7 separate regions of the Homo sapiens genome follow, and all the other regions are linked to region 4. Evidence: promoter capture Hi-C in 16 types of primary human blood cells and fetal thymus (Javierre and others, 2016). All regions are on one chromosome and are shown on one strand. The core of a region is centred on a gene start or on the middle of the fragment in contact, and the rest is flanking DNA. Distances in the headings are between cores, read along the strand shown.

Evidence for each region. The method cuts DNA at HindIII sites, captures the fragments that hold promoters and counts their contacts. A CHiCAGO score of 5 or more calls a contact.
Region 1: a fragment that was not itself captured here is called in contact with the fragment with the promoter of C2CD5 in region 4 in 2 of 17 cell types (M0 macrophages and M2 macrophages); the score reaches 11.2 in M0 macrophages.
Region 2: a fragment that was not itself captured here is called in contact with the fragment with the promoter of C2CD5 in region 4 in 1 of 17 cell types (monocytes); the score reaches 5.1 in monocytes.
Region 3: a fragment that was not itself captured here is called in contact with the fragment with the promoter of C2CD5 in region 4 in 1 of 17 cell types (M0 macrophages); the score reaches 6.6 in M0 macrophages.
Region 5: the fragment with the promoter of DNAI7 here is called in contact with the fragment with the promoter of C2CD5 in region 4 in 2 of 17 cell types (naive B cells and total B cells); the score reaches 6.0 in naive B cells.
Region 6: a contact is called between a fragment that was not itself captured here and the fragment with the promoter of C2CD5 in region 4, in 1 of 17 cell types (monocytes). The highest score is 5.1, in monocytes.
Region 7: a fragment that was not itself captured here is called in contact with the fragment with the promoter of C2CD5 in region 4 in 1 of 17 cell types (M0 macrophages); the score reaches 8.8 in M0 macrophages.

What each region holds. Positions count from the first base shown.
Region 1 is chr12:24,908,563-24,911,262 of GRCh38, forward strand. The region is part of intron 1 of BCAT1 (branched chain amino acid transaminase 1); the gene reads right to left. Among named protein-coding and RNA genes, the nearest start is that of BCAT1, 39 kb to the right of the region's middle. The HindIII fragment of the contact is 4,004 bases long and covers 1-2,700 here.
Region 2 is chr12:25,152,263-25,154,962 of GRCh38, forward strand. It overlaps DNAI7 (dynein axonemal intermediate chain 7), which reads right to left. Exons shown (of 16, transcript NM_018272.5): 6 at 2,057-2,194. Among named protein-coding and RNA genes, the nearest start is that of DNAI7, 42 kb to the right of the region's middle. The HindIII fragment of the contact is 2,905 bases long and covers 1-2,700 here.
Region 3 is chr12:25,059,906-25,062,605 of GRCh38, forward strand. It overlaps IRAG2 (inositol 1,4,5-triphosphate receptor associated 2), which reads left to right. Exons shown (of 22, transcript NM_001366544.2): 2 at 1,687-1,748. Among named protein-coding and RNA genes, the nearest start is that of IRAG2, 8.6 kb to the left of the region's middle. The HindIII fragment of the contact is 2,704 bases long and covers 1-2,639 here.
Region 4 is chr12:22,543,246-22,545,945 of GRCh38, forward strand. It overlaps C2CD5 (C2 calcium dependent domain containing 5), which reads right to left and starts at 1,297. Exons shown (of 27, transcript NM_001286176.2): 1 at 1,075-1,297; 2 at 816-934. The coding sequence starts at 905. RefSeq lists enhancers at 1-57, 1,198-1,427 and a silencer at 938-1,057. The HindIII fragment of the contact is 7,848 bases long and covers 1-2,700 here.
Region 5 is chr12:25,193,725-25,196,424 of GRCh38, forward strand. It overlaps DNAI7 (dynein axonemal intermediate chain 7), which reads right to left and starts at 1,436. Exons shown (of 16, transcript NM_018272.5): 1 at 1,352-1,436. The coding sequence starts at 1,354. ETFRF1 (electron transfer flavoprotein regulatory factor 1) reads left to right here and starts at 1,513. Exons shown (of 3, transcript NM_001001660.3): 1 at 1,513-1,613. RefSeq lists an enhancer at 1,754-1,873. The HindIII fragment of the contact is 2,518 bases long and covers 1,080-2,700 here.
Region 6 is chr12:25,334,742-25,337,441 of GRCh38, forward strand. No RefSeq gene overlaps it. Among named protein-coding and RNA genes, the nearest start is that of KRAS, 85 kb to the left of the region's middle. The HindIII fragment of the contact is 1,019 bases long and covers 790-1,808 here.
Region 7 is chr12:24,890,105-24,892,804 of GRCh38, forward strand. All of the region lies in intron 3 of BCAT1 (branched chain amino acid transaminase 1), which reads right to left. Among named protein-coding and RNA genes, the nearest start is that of BCAT1, 58 kb to the right of the region's middle. The HindIII fragment of the contact is 3,221 bases long and covers 1-2,700 here.

The DNA of each region.
Region 1 (2,700 bases), core at 76-2,575, 2.4 Mb after region 4:
AAACTCACCTCTACCAAGAACACAACAAATTAGTTGGGCGTGGTGCCATACACCTGTGGTCCCAGCTACTTGGGAGGCTGAGATGAGAGGATCACTTGAGCCCAGGAGGTGGAGGTTGCAGTGAGCCAAGATCACACCACTCCACTCCAGCCTAGGTGACAGAGCAAGACCCTGTCTTAAAAAAAATAATAAACATTAAAAATTTTTTCAAATGTAAATAGCTAACTACATGGGGCTACAGTCTGAGCACCGGTTTGGGCATTGAAGTCCCTTGGTTGAGATTCGTTATCCTGGTTCTATCACTTATAAGCCCTATGACTTTTGGCAAATTACTAACCTCTTTTGAGTCTCATATTTAAACTCAGAGTAAGTAATGGGCAGTGACGACACTCAACATGAAGATATCTATAAAGGACTTAGCAGTACTTAGCACTTAGTAACTGCTCAGTACATGTTAGCTAGTGTTATATACCATGTTTTAATTTTTTTAAGACCCATTTATTTTTCAGTTATATGTAGCCCTTGGATTACGGTATACTGATGATTAGGATATTATGTGAGAGAAACCTTAAAAATATACATCTAGTGTTTCTAGGTTTTTGTTTGTTTAATAAAGTTTCTTTAAAAAAAATAAGGCCCAGTTTGGTTCAGAAAACAAACTGCACAGCTATTATTTACATGCTTCCTGGTTGGTATTGGGAAGACAATGACAGATGAGTATAATTCCTACCTGCCAAACCCTCCCCTTACTCCTGCCATGTCACGTCTCTGGAAAAGTGAGCCATAAAAAAATCTTGACAAAAGAATTCTCATTTGGGCTTATTCAATGCCAAGTCCCATTCAACGAAGTAAAATGAGCAATTCTATGTACTGTGTATGTAGTTACTGTATCATTTGCCTAGGACGGTAGTAACAAAGTGCCACAAACTGGGTAGCTTAAACCCACAGAAAGTGATTGTCTCATAGTTCCAGAGGTGAGGTGTGGACAGGCCCAGCTTCCTTTGGAACCTGTAGGGGAGAATCCTACCTTTCTTCTTCTAGCTTCTGGTAACCCAGGTGTTTCTTGGCTTGCAGCTGCCAACACTTCAATCTCTCCTTCTGTTGCATTGTGTTTTCCCTTCCTGTCTGTCTGCTTCCTGTAACTGCTTTGATTAATGGACTATGGAGAAATATGGAAGTGACACTGTTCTAAGACTAAGCATATACACTAACTGGCCAGGCAGTTTCTGCTTTCTTCCTCTTGGAAGGATCTTGGAACTACCCCACCTAGAACCCAGTCACCCCAGCTATAAATAGCCCAAATCACATGGAGGAGCCACGTGCAGGCTCATTAGTCAACAGTGCAACATCCAGCATCACTGTCAGCCCTGTGAGTGGCTGTCTTAAACATCCAGCCCAGTCAAGCCTTCAGATGATGCCGGCCCCTCATGACTGATTAAAAACACATGAGAGACCATAAGGCTGACTCAGACTGCTCAGCCGGGCCCAGGCAATCTAGAGACCATGAGAGATAAAAATAAATTATTGTTGGCCATGCACAGTGGCTCACACCTGTAATCCCAGCACTTTGGGAGGCCAAAGCAGGCATATCACCTGAGATCAGGAGTTCGAGACCAACCTGGCCAACATGGTGAAACCCCGTCTCTACTAAAAATAAAGGAAAAATTAGCTGGGCTTGATGGCGGGTGCCTGTAATCCCAGCTCTACGGGAGGCTGAGGCAGGAGGATCACTTGAACCCAGGAGGTGGAGGTTGCAGTGAGCCGAGATCATGCCGCTGCACTCCAGCCTGGGTGACATAGCGAGACTCTGTCTCAAAAATAAATAAATAAATAAATAAATAAATAAATAAATAAATAAATAAATTATTGTTTTAAGGCCACAAAGTTTGGGGTGGTTGGTTATATAGCAATGTTAACCAAAGCAGCATGCAAACCTAACATGCTTATTTCATTATTTATTTAAAAACCTAATAATAATAAATCATGCCCAAAAATAGGGATAAAAGGGTGAGATAAACATGAAATAAGTAATCCTTTAAAATATCTTTCTAACTATGGTTATTTTATTGTACCAGCCCTAGCTAAAGGCCCAGTATACACAAGGGCCAAGTAATCAGTAATGACAGTGATACAAATCCTTCTTTTAAAGTCTTCTTGATGATCAAAATTGTGTCACCCACTATTTGTCAGTTCCGATGAAATCATTGTTGTTTTTTTAATCTCATGATATGGTTAATGGAGAACTTATAATAAGAACTGGGGCCAGGCACAGTGGCACACGCCTGTAATCCCAGCACTTTGGGAGGCCAAGGCGGCCGATCACCTGAGGTCAGGAGTTTGAGACCAGCCTGGCCAACATGGTAAAACCCTGTCTTTACTAAAAATACAAAAATTAGCTGGGCATGGTGGCGAGTGCCTGTAAACCCAGCTACTCAGGAGGCTGAGACATGAGAATTGTGTGAACCTGGGAGGTGGAGGTTGCAGTGAGCCAAGATCGCACTACTGACTCCAGCCTGGTGACAGAGTGAGACTGTCTTAAAAAAAAAAAAAAATTGAAAAAATATTAGTTATCATGAAAAACATGACACATTTCCTTGTTTTACATTACTAATATTTTCATTATTATTCTGGCTTTATCCTTTTAAATTTTTATTTATGTTTGTTTAGAGTTTTTTTTGCAGACATCTCTTAAAGCCAATG
Region 2 (2,700 bases), core at 71-2,570, 2.6 Mb after region 4:
GACCAACCATGTGATTAGAGGGCTGAAACTTGCAGCCCCACTCCCTAGCCTCCAGGATGGGGAGAGGGGATGAAGATGAACTTAAATGCCAACGGCAAATGATTTAATCAAGCATGCCTACATAAATGAGGTTTCCATAAAAAACTCAAACAACGAGGTTCAGAGAACTTTCCGGTTGGTGAACACATTGAGGTGCTGGAAGGGTGGTGTGCCCCAAGAGGGCACGGAAGCTCTACACTCCTCCCTACGGACCTCACCCCTTGTATTTCTTCATCTAGTTTTTCACTTGTATCTTTTGTAATATCCTTTATAATAAACCAGTAAAGGCGAGTAAATGTTTCTCTGAGTTTTGTGAGCCATTACAGCAAATAACCTGACCAATGGCTTGTGGCTGATTTATAACAGGCTGATCAGAAGTACAGGTGACAAGCTGGGACTTGTGATTGGAAGTGAAGGAAAGGGCAGTTTTGTGGGACGGGGGTCTGCACTAGCTCTAAGTACTCAGTACCAGCACTGGATCGAAGGACACTTCAGTAGGAATCTGGAGAGTTGGATAATTGGTTGGTGTGAGAAAACCCCACATACATTTGGTGTCAGAAGTGTTAAAAGTATAAACGCTAGTTTTTCGTTTTACTTAGAATTTCTTGAGCTTCCTGAATGTGAGGATTCACATCTTTCATCAATTCTGGAAAATTTTCAGCCATTATCTCTTTGAATATTGTCTCTCTTCCATTCTTCTGTATCCCTTCTTTTCTTTTTTAGCCCTTGTTACTCTATAATACATGCCTGTCAACTGCTCTTTCATATTTTCTATCTCTTTGTCTCTGTGCTGTCTTCTGGTAAATTTTCCAATCCAACTTTTGATTCACTCCTCATTAAAAATTCTTGGCTAGGTGCAGTGGTAATCCTAGCACTTTGGGAAGCTGAGGCTGCTGGATCATTTGAGGTCAGCAGTTTGAGACCATCCTGGCCAACATGGTGAAACCTCATTTCTACTAAAAATACAAAAATTAGCCAGGTGTGGTGGCACATGACTGTAATTCCAGCTATTGGGAGGCTGAGGCATGAGAATTGGTTGAATCCGGGAGGTAGAGGTTGCGGTAAGCCGAGATCACGCCACTGCACTCCAGCCTGGGTGACAGAGCGAGATGCCGTCTCAAAAAATTAATTAAATAAATAAATAAATAAAAATTCTTAGTGGAGACATTTTTGTTTCTTATTCACTAAGCTAAAGATAAGCCAAACGCATCTTATCTCCTTTTGCACAATAAATTTTTCCTGTTATCCATAATGTCTTTTGAGGCTCCCAGCCATACAGGAGTCTCTGGTTCAACTTACCACCTTGTATGTACTCTAGGCTTTGCCTCCTGATGGCCCTTTGAACCAATGCTAAGCCATAGCAGTTAGCTAGCTAAGCCACTAACTAGTTAGCTATGAAGCCATGGCTTCAAGACCTTCTTACTTTCTGGATTGTTTTATGGCCTCTAAGGTTTTACCTTACTTTTTTTGATTAAAGCAATGAATTTAAATTTTTTTTAATAAATTAGTTTTTTTTCCCCCAGTATTTTTAAGTGCATTGTAAAGTGGCAGCTTCTCAGGCTAGTCTAACCATCCTATTTGCAGGAACAAAAGTTAGAATATTCTGATTTGTCTTTGTACCCCCACTGTCTAACAGAGTGTATACCTGGCACCTAGTAAACATGAAAAATCATGGGTACTAAATTACTGAACAGTGGATATTCCAACTGAGGATAAAATTACCCACTACCCCCACCCGAGTTATCTACATGAATGCATGCAACTTGATTTTTTTTTCTTGATTAGACAGACAAATAATCAATGTTTTATGATATGCTGACCTTAGCTAATATGGCAAGGAATTCTTAGGACTTGTAAAAAAGAAAAAAGAAAATGAAAAGATTACCAATTACTTCTTTTGCTAAGGGTTCAAAAGCAGTAGTGTTATTACTTGGCAAATGATATATTAATTTTTATTTTGAGTTAATATCAGACTATTTGTAATAGCCAGTTTATAGGAAAATGCATAAATACCTACATTTAGCACTACTTTACTCTTCTCAATCACTTCCTCAAAAGTCTCATTTGTTTTCTCTTTCCACAAACTAATAAACGTGTTCATTTCTTGGGCTACTGAAGGATCAGGACTCCCATCACATTGAATGTAGTGCTTCCACTGTGGAATAAAAATGTTTAAAGGTTCACATTGATGAAGATTCAACCAAAGATTAAATGACTTCTTTTTTGAAGGTGAATTTTTATAACCTAGTTTAACCAACTTAGATAAAAACATGATGGCTTTAACCAGTAACTTGAGAGAGCTCTAAAATAACCAAGTTCTTCTTTATCCAAGTAACTTCTAATCCTTAATATTCAGATACATAGAAGCACTAAAATACTTTCACATTTTTATTTTTAAAGCATTATTTATAAGTAGTTTTGTTTTGCTTAGTTTTCCTCTCTAATCATAGAGCTGCTTATTTGCAAAGGCCAACACTTAGGCTAATTTCTACTTCCCAAGTTATTACTAATGTCTAGTTGCCACTGGCATTTTAGTAGAAGGCCTTCCATTCATTTTGTAGTTTATGCAAATTTCACATTTGTAATCATATTGTACTGTACTTAGAATTTTTCACTTGATTATACCACAATCTTTAGCCATATTATAATAGTTTTTCATTT
Region 3 (2,700 bases), core at 38-2,537, 2.5 Mb after region 4:
TATGCTCATGACTCAGAATTTCTCCAGGCTATTAAGATATAAAACTGTTGGTTTATAAAATAAGAAGCACCAGATTTCTATGTATTTTGGATGCCAGAGTATCTGCTGTTAATAATTTTCCTGGCTGTTAGTGATTTTAAAAAAAAGTGGTAGCTATTAATATGCTTCCATCTAGCAGAGCTCCTTATATCCTTGTTTAAGTTTTGCTTTTAATCTTCTTTGGGCTGAGAAGGCAGTCAAACTGGTGAAAATTATGTATATACCCAGAGCCCACTGCTTGAGTTGAAGTGTGAGGTTTGCCACGTGAATAAAGGGCATAAATATCAGTATCTATTCTAGTTGTTCAAAAGATTTGGGTTTATTTTCTGGTTTTGGCTATGTTTCAGAGAGTAGGATTTGTCAAATAAATAATATGTTATTATGTACATCAAAGAGCTAGTTAAATATTAGGTACTTTTCCCCCATTTCCATTATTCCAGGCATAAGACCTTTAGAGATTTTACTTAAGCAGAAAAACAAATATTTTTAGTTTCACAGAATGATACCCTGAGTTAAGCTCTGTTCCATGAGTCTAATCTCAGCTCCATGATTTACCAGTTACCTTTTCAATCGTCTGCACATCAGTGTTCTCATGATCTGAGATCTACTTGTAGGATTCTGGGATCCTAGGGCTGTAATTTGAGGGCTCAAGCAGAGGCTTATTGGAGATAGGATTTCTTTATCAGTAGGAGGTCAGACTGAATGACCTCTAAAATGTATTTTCTTTTTTTTTTTTTTTTTTTTTTGAGAGGGAGTCTCGCCCTGGAGTGCAGTGGCATGATCTTGGCTCACTGCAACCTTCACCTCCCAGGTTCAAGTGATTCTCCTGCCTCAGCCTCCCAAGTAGCTAGGATTACAGGCATGCGCCACCACACCCAGCTAATTTTTGTATTTTTTTTTTTTAGTAGAGATGGGGTTTTGTCCTGTTGGCCAGGCTAGTCCCAAAGTACTGGCCTAAAATGATCCACCCACCTTGGTCTCTCAAAGAGCTGAAATTAGAGGTGTGAGCCACTGCACCAGGCCTAAGATGTATTCTTAGCTTAAGATTAGACAATTCTGTGACTCACTTCTAGAAGACAATTCACATGTATCTATCAAAGTAAAATTTAAATACCCAAGGGAGATAATGGCTTATCTGTTCTAGCCTGGTTTTCCATTTTTCCCGAGTCATAAGTTGAGAGTGCCATTCTCAGAAATCATTATTTTCCCTTTCCTTTTCTTGAGGCCCCAAATTTAAAGCCATTAAAAGTTTTTGAAGCAATGAAATGAATTAAAGGAGACAAGGTTAAATATGCTCATACTGGGCATAGTGGCTCATGCCTGTAATCCCAGCACTGTGGGAGGCCGGGGTGGGTGGATCACCTGAACTCAGGAGTTTGAGACCAGTCTAGACAACATGGTGAAACCCATCTCTACAAAAAATACCAAAACTAGCTGAGTGTGGGTGGCATGTGCCTGTAATTCCAGCTACTTGGGAGGTTGAAACAGGAGGATGGCTTCAGCCCAGGAGGCAGAGTTTGCAGTGAGGTGAGATCATGCCACTGCACTCCAATCTGGGCAATAGAACCAAATCCTGTCTTGAAATAAATTCATTAATTAATTAAATTAAAATGGTCATATTGAGCTGGTTATAAATTCTCTTTGTAGCAACAATTGAGTCACTTCAAAAGGAGTTCATTGAAGGGGAACACCATGGCTTGCTGTTTCAGGTAAAATATCTCTGATATGTGTTCAGTTACTGTGGAGGAAGTTGTTCAATTCATGTAAGGTTTTGAAGCTAATTTATAACAGACAATGACTTTAATCATTAAATTAAATAACCAGTTTAGAAGAAAATGTTTTGGTGGACTTTGTTCTCTTCTGCACTTAAAGTATTTAGCAAAATAAGAAAGGAGATCTTACATTAGTGAGTGGCTACTGATAATATCTTCTAGAGAGGAAGCATTTCAGAATTTTCTTTGCCCCACCACTATATCTATTAGCGAACAGCCAGTTTTTCAGTCTTGGGGACCTCCTTTCTGATAGTAAGGGCATATCATTCAATTTATAATATGCTGAAATTTTGAGTATTCTTGAATAGGCTTTGATGGTTACTGTCTCTTTTTTCTTTCTCATATTTGAATTAAACTTTCTATTTCTTTCTGTATGGGTCATCTCAAGATATCCCTGGTAAAGTGTATTTCCTTCCCTTGTGATACTTGGTGAATCTCCTTTTTGTTCAGAAATGAAGAACATAAGGGAACAGCAAGGCAGCAAGGTTGGCACTGGAGGAAGATGATGGAGGAGGAAAGAAAGAAGGGTGATATTTGCATGTATCTGTTTCTAGGGCATCATGCAGACACATCTGTTAAAGCAGGAAAAAAAAAACCATGTGGAAGATTAAGCTAGGCAGAGTGCCTGAAAAGCCCTCTGCAATAAGTTGAGCTGGAAAAACCTCCATATCTAAAGATGCTTTAATCATCTCAAGAACACCAACAACATTTTCTATTATAATATAACTATGATAGATGTGAATCTACCTCTTGGATTAAGGCAATAATTTTATAGCTATCAAATTTTCACAGACACCATTTTCACTACTCTGAGTTGCATCTCTAACAAGCTTCTTTAGCCTCTGCCTACAGATTTCAGTGACAAAGCCATTCAGTTTCTTGTTCCCGA
Region 4 (2,700 bases), core at 47-2,546:
CTTCTTTCAGACTCTGGGTTATTACCTTCCGGCCGTAGGCCTTTACTAATTTGCATGACTTTTAAACTAATCATTAGACTTAAAAAGCAATTTTGCAATTTAAGTCCATGGCAATTAAATGACTTCCTACCTCAAGGCGCTAAATTACCCTGAAACACCTCATCAGACCTACCAGCCTATACAAGAGCAGGAAGTGTTGCAGTTGTGTTTTAGAACGTGCATGGCAGATTCACAAAATGTTAGGCATGAGAGTGGATTTCCTCGCACTGTGGGACTCCAAGTGCCCATAAAGGGCTTCATGCACCTTCTTAAACATGATGTCCAGCACTCTGGCCACCCCTTCCAAGGGTGTGTGTGTGCCTGTGTGTGTGTGTGTTTCAGTGGCTGCGGGGCCACACCTTGGGATCTCCTGAGTGGCAGGTGGCCTGTTAATGAGTCCTGACATCAGAGTCATTCCGGCATTTGTGTGTGTGTGTGTGTATGTGTGTGAGTGTGTCGGTGGCTGCGCGGCCACGCCTTGGGATCTCCTGAGTGGCAGGTGGCCTGTTAATGAGTCCTGACATCAGGGTCACCCCCGCATGCACAACAGTACAAGCCTCCCCGCGCAGCGGACTGTGCCGCGGACGCCTGCAAGCCGTGCACCCATCGCACACACTGAGGTCTCGGCGGTCATCCCTCGTGGGAGAGCTGGACAACCACGGCCGAAGGGAGGGCAGTCGAGGGGGGAATAGGCTGAGGGGCTGGGGGCGAGGTGGGTAGATCCTTCACAGGGCTTGGCGCTCCCTGTGTTTTGAGGGGCAGGACCCTGCACCAACCTCCACGAAGGCATCAGTCAGGTCACTAGCACGGTCCATCACTGGCAAATGGCGCCCGGCCACGATTTTCACCTTCAGCTTCCCTGGCATGGTCTCGGTTTCGGCCTCTTCTTGGGCTCCTGCAGAAACAAACAAACGAGTCTGCGCCGAGCGCGGGGCCGGCGGGAGAGGGGCGGAGGCGCGCGGGGTAACTGACAGCGAAGGAGCGCGCGGGGGCGCGCGCGGGCGCCCGGCAGTCGCGCCACGGGTCGCCACTCACTGTCGCAGGAGGAAGGGTGCTGTCCCGCGCGGGTGCTGAGACCTCATTCCGGAGAGGCGGCGGGAGGAAGGGCTTTGATGGGTTCTTCCGTCCCGGCCCCACAAGGCTGGGACGAAAAGCAAAACCCAGTCAGCATCCCGTTGAGCCTCTGCCGCCCCTGCTTGTCTCTCCTCCCCCGCTCTCAAAAATGGCGGCTCTCGGGGCGCGGAAGAAAGCATCGATCGTTCGGCGCTCTGCCCACTTGGCGGGGCGAAACTAAACTCGCCGAGGAAAGATAAGGGGGCGGGGCTGACGTTGAGAAAGCTGGAGGGCAGGGAAATGGGCCGAGTCCTGCATCATCCACCGAGTGGGGGCTGTGGATAGGTGCGGCGCTGCTTCCCTGGAGGGAAACGCTCCATCTTGCGGGCCGAAGCGCGAGTGCTGCTCTGTGACAGCCTCCGGCCGCGGCCTTCCCAGCTGCTACCGCCGCTTTTCGGATGGGCTGTGATAGATGGAGTAGCAGCGAAGACTGCTAGAAGAGCGTTTTCAGTCGGCCTTTAGTGATTCGTAAAACCAAATTAGCTGGTTTCTACTTGGAAGGGGTACAGGTGCGTGTGGTGGTTCCAGTTTTCTGTGAAATAGAGTTAGATGGCCAGGCACAGTGGCTCACGTCTGTAATCCCAGCACTTTGGGTGGCCGAGGCGGGCGGATCACCTGAGGTCAGGAGTTCAAGACCAGCCTGGACAACATGGCGAAACCCCGTCTCTACTAAAAATACAAAAATTAGCTGGGCGTCGTGGCGAGCGCCTCTAATTCCAGCTACTCAGGAGGCTGAGGCAGGAAAATCGCTTGAACCTGCGAGGCGGAGGTTGCAGTGAGCCGAGATCACTCCTCTGTCTCCAAAAAAAGAAAAAAAAGAAAGAAAGAAATAGAGATACCAGGCACATCTCGAATAGTGAAATAAATATTTAGTGAAATATTTTATTCAGTCATAGGCACTTGTGTTGTGCACTGGGTCACAGATATTACTGTGGGCGGGGTGGGGGAGGTCACCTTGAAATCCAAAGTCTCCTCTTGAAAAAAAGTTTCTGCTGGTAGGTGTGGTGGCTCAGATTTGTAATCCCAGCACTGTGGGAGGCTGAGGTGGGAGGATCGATTGAGTCCAGGAGTTCGAGACCAGCCTCATGGAGACGAGGCAACACAGTAAGACCCCTTCTTTACAAGAAATGCAAAAATTAGCTGGGCCGGTGGCTCGTCTGTGGTCTCAGCTACCTAGGAAGCTGAGGTGGGAGAATCTGGGAGAATTGCTTGAGCCCAGGAGTTTGAGGCTGCAGTGAGCTGCCATCTCACCACTGCACCCCAACCTGGGCAACAGAGCAAAACTCTGTCTCTTAAAAAAAATTTTTTTTTAATTAAATGTCCTGCACTCTTAGATCATCTCAGTGTTCTTATTAAGCATCCACAAGCCTAAAGATAAGACCTACAGTAGTAGCAGAAGTTCAGGACTTCCTACCATGGAAAGTATAGTCAACCACAAGAAATAAACATGGAGAGCGTTAAACATCTTGAAGAATTGACCCAACTATAAATAAAGTAAGGTGTTATCTACAGGCTCAGACCATATTAGGGAAATTGAGGCACACACAA
Region 5 (2,700 bases), core at 186-2,685, 2.7 Mb after region 4:
AGTAAGTGCTTACTGTTCCCCCAATTTATTAGCAATTATAAATTGACTTAAGGTCCATTTGCATTCCGCCAGGAATGCTCTCCACTCCCTATTTCTTTTTTTCTCTTTTTTTTTTGAGACGGAGTCTCGCTCTGTCACCCAGGCTGGAGTGCAGTGGCACAATCTCGGCTCACTGCAACCTCCGCCTCCCAGGTTCAAGCGATTCTCTTGCTTCAGCCCCCTGAGTAGCTGGAATTACAGGTGCGCGCCAACACGCCCGGCTAATTTTTGTATTTTTAGTAGAGACTGGGTTTCACCATGTTGACCAGGCTGGTCTCGAACTCCTGACATCGTGATCTGCCCGCCTCGGCCTCCCAAAGTGCTGGGATTACAGGGGTGAGCCACCGCGCCAGGCCTCCACTCCCTATTTCTTCCCACCATATGTGGAAAACTCGTATTTATACTTTAAAACAGGTTGAAAAGCACCACTCTCCTTCCCTTGTTTCCCCTCACTGAAATTTCATCATTTCCAACTGTGTGTTACCCCATTTTAGATGCTTCAATTGTTACAGTTGTAAAGCTGTATTGTAATTAATTTGTTTAATCTGTATCCTATAAGCAGAGTTGTCGTCATGTTCTTCTTGGTATTCTTGGCTTCTAGCCCAGTGCCAAGTACAAAGAATGCACTCCACATTTTTCCCTTAATTAATGAATTAAATAAGTAATTACATTCTCCACTTCCTCTGGTTTTAATTATAGAAAATGTCTTGATGGAAACCACATTTAAGAAAATCAGAGATACTCTCATAGCTACATGTTGGCCTGTCTCCTTGCTGAAAACATGGCAGTTGAGGAGTGCAGAAAAACAAAATGAGAAGCCTTATCATATTTAACTAATGCAGGATGAGAACCTTGAATCACAAAACAATTCATATTCCCACAAAAGACGACATAAAATATTTTTTCAAAGCAGAGTAAATTGCATTAGCTTTTAATTAACTGCTGGAGAAGTACTAAAACATTTCCGCCAAGTTGCAATAAGAAAATTTAGTGGGAACGTCTATCACTACTGAAAGTTACTAGGTTGGGACCAATTTTCAAGCTTAGCAACATTCGAGATCAGGATACCGTGTGACAGCTTTGACCATCTCCCGTTTGCAGAAACTGGTTTGGGACTCCTACCTGTCCGCCTGGTCCAGGTAAGGAAAGCCATTGCTGAGAAGAGGGCCGACCCACCCCAAGGTATGAGTTATTTCCCAAACCGACCCGCTTCGCTGTAAAATATGACTGGCTCTTGATTACATTATTTAACACTGGTGAAGCAGAATCAGTGGTCGCCCCTCCACCTGTCTGCCTCATTTGCCTTGCTCACCATTAAGAGTCAAGCTCCACTGCAGTAGTCCGCAGAGTCGGAGCAGAAATTGTGTGGACAAACGCTCCCGGGTTGCCCGGACGACAGGCCCCGCCCACTTGAGCTCCAGGAAAAGAGCGCAGCCGCGCGGAGGCTCTTCCGGCCGGCGCCCCGCCCCCTTTACTGACAGGTTGCCCACCTCCCCCAACGCCACCCCGCTTCGCAGTAGACGGACAGAGGAGTCGTAGCGGTCGAGGCTTTTGCGGCTCCGGCGTGCCGGAAAGTGCGTGAGTGCCGCCGCCGGGGAGTTTTGTTCCATTTCCCGGATCCTGGGGTCTGGAGGCGAAATATGCTCTGGGCGAGGACCACCGGGTGTGGGAAGAGGGTTCTGAGCGTCTCCTGACGTTGACGGTTTATTTCCTAGAGTGTGTTGGGTCTTTCTGTGAGGGTTTCGAGAAGGAAACAGGCATGCGACTGGTTCATGCAGCGGACACCCGGTGGGAGGCCTGGGCCTCTGCGGTTTAATCCAGCAGGGGGATGGGGCTCATTCCGCAATTTAAAGAGAGAAATAAGTTGGCTCCAGAGGGTTGGTTATTTTAAGATTAATGACCTTCGGATTCTTCTTTCTGCTCTATTGTTTACTTTCTGTGCAGCGTACGCGTCCTTTTTCCTAAGAGCGCCCTAAACAAGAATTGAAAATGAAGCAATTCCTGGCTAAAATATTCCTTAACATGAAGATCGCTGAGGCCCCAAAGACTCATTAGTTTCCCGAGGTCACAGACTAATTTTACTAACCACACAACCTTTAGAATTTCAGTCTCCTCCCACATGAAGAAACGCCGGCACCTTACACCGACAGGAAAACTACAATTAAGTGAGGCTGTTCTCCTCAAGCCCGACTGAGTTCTCTGTAATTGTAGGGCATACCTACACCCTGTTTTAGCATTATGAGACCTGAAATACTTTTAAATTACTGGCACCATTTCTCATCTCTGAATTATAAGTTTATAATGCTCTATCCCTTCCAGTGTTATTGACTACATGCATTATTCATAGATAAGTAGTAGGACTAAGCTAGTCTTTGTGGGTTAAAGTGTTATTATCCCTATTGTAACCTGTAACTATTATAGGTTGTGTAATAGTTATTAGCATTTTACATCCATATCCTGGTAGCAAGATAAAAACATTTTAATAGCGACTTCGTACAGAGTTCTTACTCAGTTTACCATAGCTGTTTGATATGAAAGTTAAGGCTTCCTTTTAAATTAGTTTCAGTAAAACTAATGTTTAATGATAAAACACCTCAGTCAACTCAAGTTAGGATTCATCGGGGTAAGGAGATAGTTCAGTAATCCCAAGTTACCTTAAAA
Region 6 (2,700 bases), core at 49-2,548, 2.8 Mb after region 4:
TAAATATAATTGTTATTAATTACTGGACTTTTGAATAATTCTTTGAATTTAACACCTTAATGAAGAGCTACTGTTTAGAACTTGTCATTTTAATTTAAAAGTTCAAAATAATCATTTTTACACAGAAAATTCTCTTTCAAAGACGCCAAAAAAAATACTCACTTAGAATTAATATAAATGCACAATTCTAGGCTTTTAGTACCTATTAGGCTGTCTATATTTGAAATTTTAAATTCTCTATCCCTGAGTAATCACAAAGTTATCCTAACAACACATTTTAAATATTTCTTTCTAATCTCTCTGTCTCTGTCTCTCTCTCTCTCTTTTCTCTTCTTACTGAATTTTGAATAGTCTAGGTCTAGGGCACACACTCTGACCATGTTTATGAGCTGATTAGCATAATAAAATTATAGGCGAAAAAATAAATCACTTAAAGGTACATAGAAGAAAAATAGAAAGTTATATAATTTTCTTCAGTGAGGATATAAATGCATGCTTTGGATATCCAGAGATTCAAACGAAATCCATTGGTTGGAAAGCTTTTATATTAGAGGAAAAAAGCTTTCATTACCAGAGGGGGAAAAAAGAATTGAGATGACTTTATGAAAGAACCACAAAACTAATTAAAGTTCTGTGAAAGAGGCCCCATAGGGAAAGGCTTAAAGATGTGGGATATTTAAACTGCAGAAAACTGAGGTGAAGTGTCTAGACAAAGTGGTTTGACTAAAGTTGGCTTTTAAATACTGGTTGAAGTTCTTCCAATAACTGGCCCCCTTATAAAGCAAATAAAGCTTATTTTAAAAATTCTTCAGCTGACCTATGAAGTGTAGAATTTAAGGATCTTTAAATATAGGAAGAGATATTCTATGAAGTATATACTAAACAGACATTTTCTTTCCTTTACAGATAGTGCAAAGGCAGAATGAGCTACAGCAAGAAAATTGTAGGTCGACATTAGAAAAATTTGTAGATCTAAGATTGCATTATACAAATAATATACTGGATGATCCTTTTTGGAAGGAAAAAGAAACTAAAATGCATAGAAAGCATTCTTTCTTAGTAGATGAATGTAAAAGGTGATGAGAAAATCACAGGGTGAAGGCACAGGGAAGAGAAGGGAGGATAAGTAGCCACTGGGCTTGGTCAAATCCTAGACAAAAGGTTAGAGAGGTCAAACTCAGCCATTTAATGCCCCTGCCCCTTCTCACATTCAGGTCCAGGAAACTAGCTTCTTGGGATTCTCACTTTCACAGTCGCTGCTCTGAACTCCACCAGTCTTACTCTAAGCCATCTAGCCAACTTCTCCCCATCACTCAGGGCTTTGTTTTTTCTAATTAGATAAAAATCGCTCATCAGGAAAAGTGGCATTTATCAAGGTGTTAATGGGTACCCCTCGGCTAATGTTATCTTTGTCCAAATATCACATTTGCTTTATAATCAGATTTCTTGAATATTTATAACTTTACTAAAAGGAATGACTTTAACAATAGAACTCTCTAGAACTTTTTTAGGTCAGGATGGGAGGGAGAAGAGTTTTGAGGGATCCAAACACTCCATGTACATTGGTTCAACAGCTAATTATTAAGCACTTTCTGTTTCAGACACAGTTCTAAGCACATGCTATAACTTCATATAGTGAAAAGTACTACGAATAAAAGACAACAAGGTGATGAGATAGAGATGAATGGGTAGAGCTGGGATAGGTGGTGCTGGTGGCTACTTTTTCTAGATCGTGCAGTCTCGGAACTCCTTTCTGAGAAGGTGATGCTTGAGCTGAGAATCTGAGTAAGATGGAGCTTGTTAGGTTAAGCTTTGGAGGCAGAGAATATTCTAGGAAAATCTTTAACTGAGGTTGGATGGCCTTTGCATGCATTCAACCTGAGAACATCAGTAGCACTTATGGAATTAATATTGGTCTCTCATCTTCTCTAGAGGTTTCAGAAAACTCTAGGAAATTCAGATCAAGCTTTGACATCCTCTATGATCTTTTTCTTCTTAGATTTCAATCTTCTAAGGCAATTAGAACAGATATACTCTGCTCATATAGGAGTCTATTATTTATTCTTTTTTTATTAGTTCTTGAACATTTATTCAACAAATATTTATTAAACATCTACCACGCGCCAGATAATACAGCAGTGAACCAAACATAAAAATCCATATCTAGGCTGGGTGCAGTGGTTCACACCTGTAACCCCAACATTTTGGGAGGTCAAGGCGGGAGGATTGCTTGACACCAGGGGTTTGAGACCACCCCGGCCAACACAGCGAGACCCCATTTCAAAAAAAAAAAAATCCACATCCATATGGAAATTTGCATTTTAGTGAGAGAGAAAAACAATAAAGAAAATACTTTATTTCATCAAATGTAAGATGGACAATTTTTCACACTTCAAAATCTCTGAAATTGTAATCTGACTTAGTACCATCTTACATTTGTAATTGGCAGCTGTTTTTCTTTTCTTGTGATACAAAAATAATGTTGCATCTTATTATCAAAGACATCTAAGATTTCATCAAGTGTTTCTTACTGATAATAAGAAAAATAAGTAGATGGTTAGATAGTGTTAAGTGCAAAAGAGAAAAATAAAGCAACTTTCACTGCCAAAATGAGTGAGAATAAATTAATTTTAAGAAAAGTAAAGCAAGAGGGGGAAGGGGATAGAAAGTGCTTGTGACTTGGAGGGGCGGGTGGGAAGG
Region 7 (2,700 bases), core at 166-2,665, 2.3 Mb after region 4:
CCCTGAGTTTTGTGAGCTGCTCCAGTAAATTAATCAAACCAGAAGAGGGGGTCATGGGAACTCCAACTTGATGCCTCTCAGTCAGACATTCCAGAGGACAGGACTTGTGACTTGTGTCTGGGCCAGGTGAGGGTGGTTAGGGTCTTGGGGAATGAGCCCTTAACCCATGGGATCTGACACTATTTCCAGGTGGATAATGTCAGAGGTGTTTGGACCAGAGCGACTCCATCCTGATTAGGGGCTGGGTAAAATAAGGCTGAAACCTACTGGGCTGCATTCTCAGGAGGTTAGTATTCTAGGTCACAGGATGAGATAGGAGGTCGGCACAACATACAGGTTACAAAGACCCCACTGATAAAACAAGATGTGGTAAAGAAGCCAGCCAAAACCTGCCAAATCCCATATGGCAATGAAAGGGATGTCTGGCCGTCCTCGCTGCTCATTATAAGCTAATTATAATGCATTAGCATGCTAACAGACACTCCTACCAGTGTCACGACAATTTACAGAGGCCATGGCAATGGTGGGAAGTTAACCTACAAGGTCTAAAAAGGGGAGGAACCCTCAGTTCCAGGAATTGCCCATCCCTTTTCTGGAAAATTTATGAATAATCTACCCCTTCTTTAGCAAATGATCAAGAAATAACCATTAAAATAGCCAACCAGCAGCCCTCGGAGCTCCTCTGTCTACGGAGTAGCCATTCTTTTTTTCCTTTACTTTCTTAATAAATTTTATTTTACTTTGTGGACTCTCCCCAAATTCTTTCTTGTGCAACATCCAAGAACCTCTTGGGGACTGGATTGGGACACCTTTCCCGTAATAACAGTGTGAGAATTGAATTGGAGGACACCCAGCTGGGGTTCACTGCTTGGTGGTGGGGAGAAATCCCTACACCTTTGATCATAGAAGTCTCCTATGTTGACTATTGTTGTGGTGGTGTGAGAGTAGAGGAAAAACTCGGTTGGAGAATTTTTCTTGAAAGAGTAGTTTTGAGGCTAGGGCGTAAACAGCAATAGAGCTTCCATCTGGGCTCAGTCAACTGACACATACAGATTTTGGGCCCTAGGTCAGCACATAAGAAGGCTGCCTACTCTGTGACTGCCATCCTGAGGAGACCACATGGAGAACAAGTAATGCCGGAAGAGCCTTCAACTCCTTGAGTTTTGCAGCCCAGATGGCAATGAAAGTGACCTCTGGTCATCCTCACTGTTCATTATACACAAATTATGAAGCATTAGCATGCTAAGAGACACTCCCTCCAGCACCATATGAGTTAGGAAGCCTGTGAGCTGACTCTAACCCCAGCCACTGACAGCAACCGTGTGACGGACCCCAAGCAAAAACCACTTAGCCATCCTAGTCAACCCCAGAAACATGAAAAATAATTTTAAAATGACGCTTGTAATTTTAAGCTATTAATTTTGTTACATAGTGGTAACCATGCAATATACAATCCAGTTATTAATACAAAACATTTATTTTACTTATATTGTAAGCAGAAGACTAATAATAAAAGATTTTGGTTTTTAACAAAGGATAACAGTAATTTGAGAGTTTTTTTAAACTACCCTAATTACAAAAATCTAAATTGGCAAAACCAATCAAAGTAGCATTCCAACTCATCTAAATAGATGGCCAAAGAGGTTTTTGTTTTTTTTTTTTGAGATGGAGTCTTGCTCTGTCACCCAGTGTGGAGTGCAGCGGCGTGATCTCGGCTCACTGCAAACTCCGCCTCCTGGGTTCACGTCATTTTCCTGCCTCAGCCTCCTAAGTAGCTTGGACTACAGGCGCCTGCCACCACGCCCGGCTAATTTTTTTTTTTTTTTCTATTTTTAGTAGAGATGGGGTTTCACCATGTTAGCCAGGATGGTCTCGATCTCCTGACCTCGTGATCCGCCCGCCTTGGCCTCCCAAAGTGCTGGTATTACAGGCGTGAGCCACCTCGCCTGGCCGTTTTTTGTTTTGTTTTGTTTTGTTTTGTTTTGTTTTGTTTCAATAGAGTCAGGGTCTCATCATGTTGCAGCCCAGTAGGTCTCAGCCTTATTTTACCCAGCCCCTATTCAGGATGGAGTCACTCTGGTTTGAACGACTCTGACATTATCTACGTGGAAATAGCATCAGATCCCATGGGTGGAGGGCTCATTTCCCAAGAACCCCATCTCCCCGAAACTGCTGAAATTACAGATGTGAACCACCCCACCCAGCCTTCAAAGAGTTTTCAAAAACCAGTGACCACCAAAATCTTTTTTAACTTCCAAAAATGACATTAAATCATTTCTCATTTACTTCCCATAGGCCAGCAATTCCCAAAATGTGGTCCCTGGAGCGACAAAATTAACATGATCTGGACACTTGTTAGAAATGAGAAACTCTGGAGATGTAGCCAGCTGATTCTGATGCACATTAAGTTTGAGAACCAGTGACCTGGGCTTGGGCATATTATTCCTTTCAAATTTAAAAGCACATAGCCAGGAGCAGTGGCTCATGGCTGTCATCCCAGCACTTGAAGAAGCCAAGGCAAGAGGATTGCTTGAGCCCAGGAGTTTGAGACCAGCCTGGGCAACATGGCAAAACCCAGTCTCAACAAAATATGTAAAAATTAGCCAGACATGGTGACATGTGTCTGTGGTCCCAGCTACTCAGGAGGCTGAGGTACGAGGTTTGCTTGAGCCCAGGAGTTTGAGGCTGCAGTGAGCCACG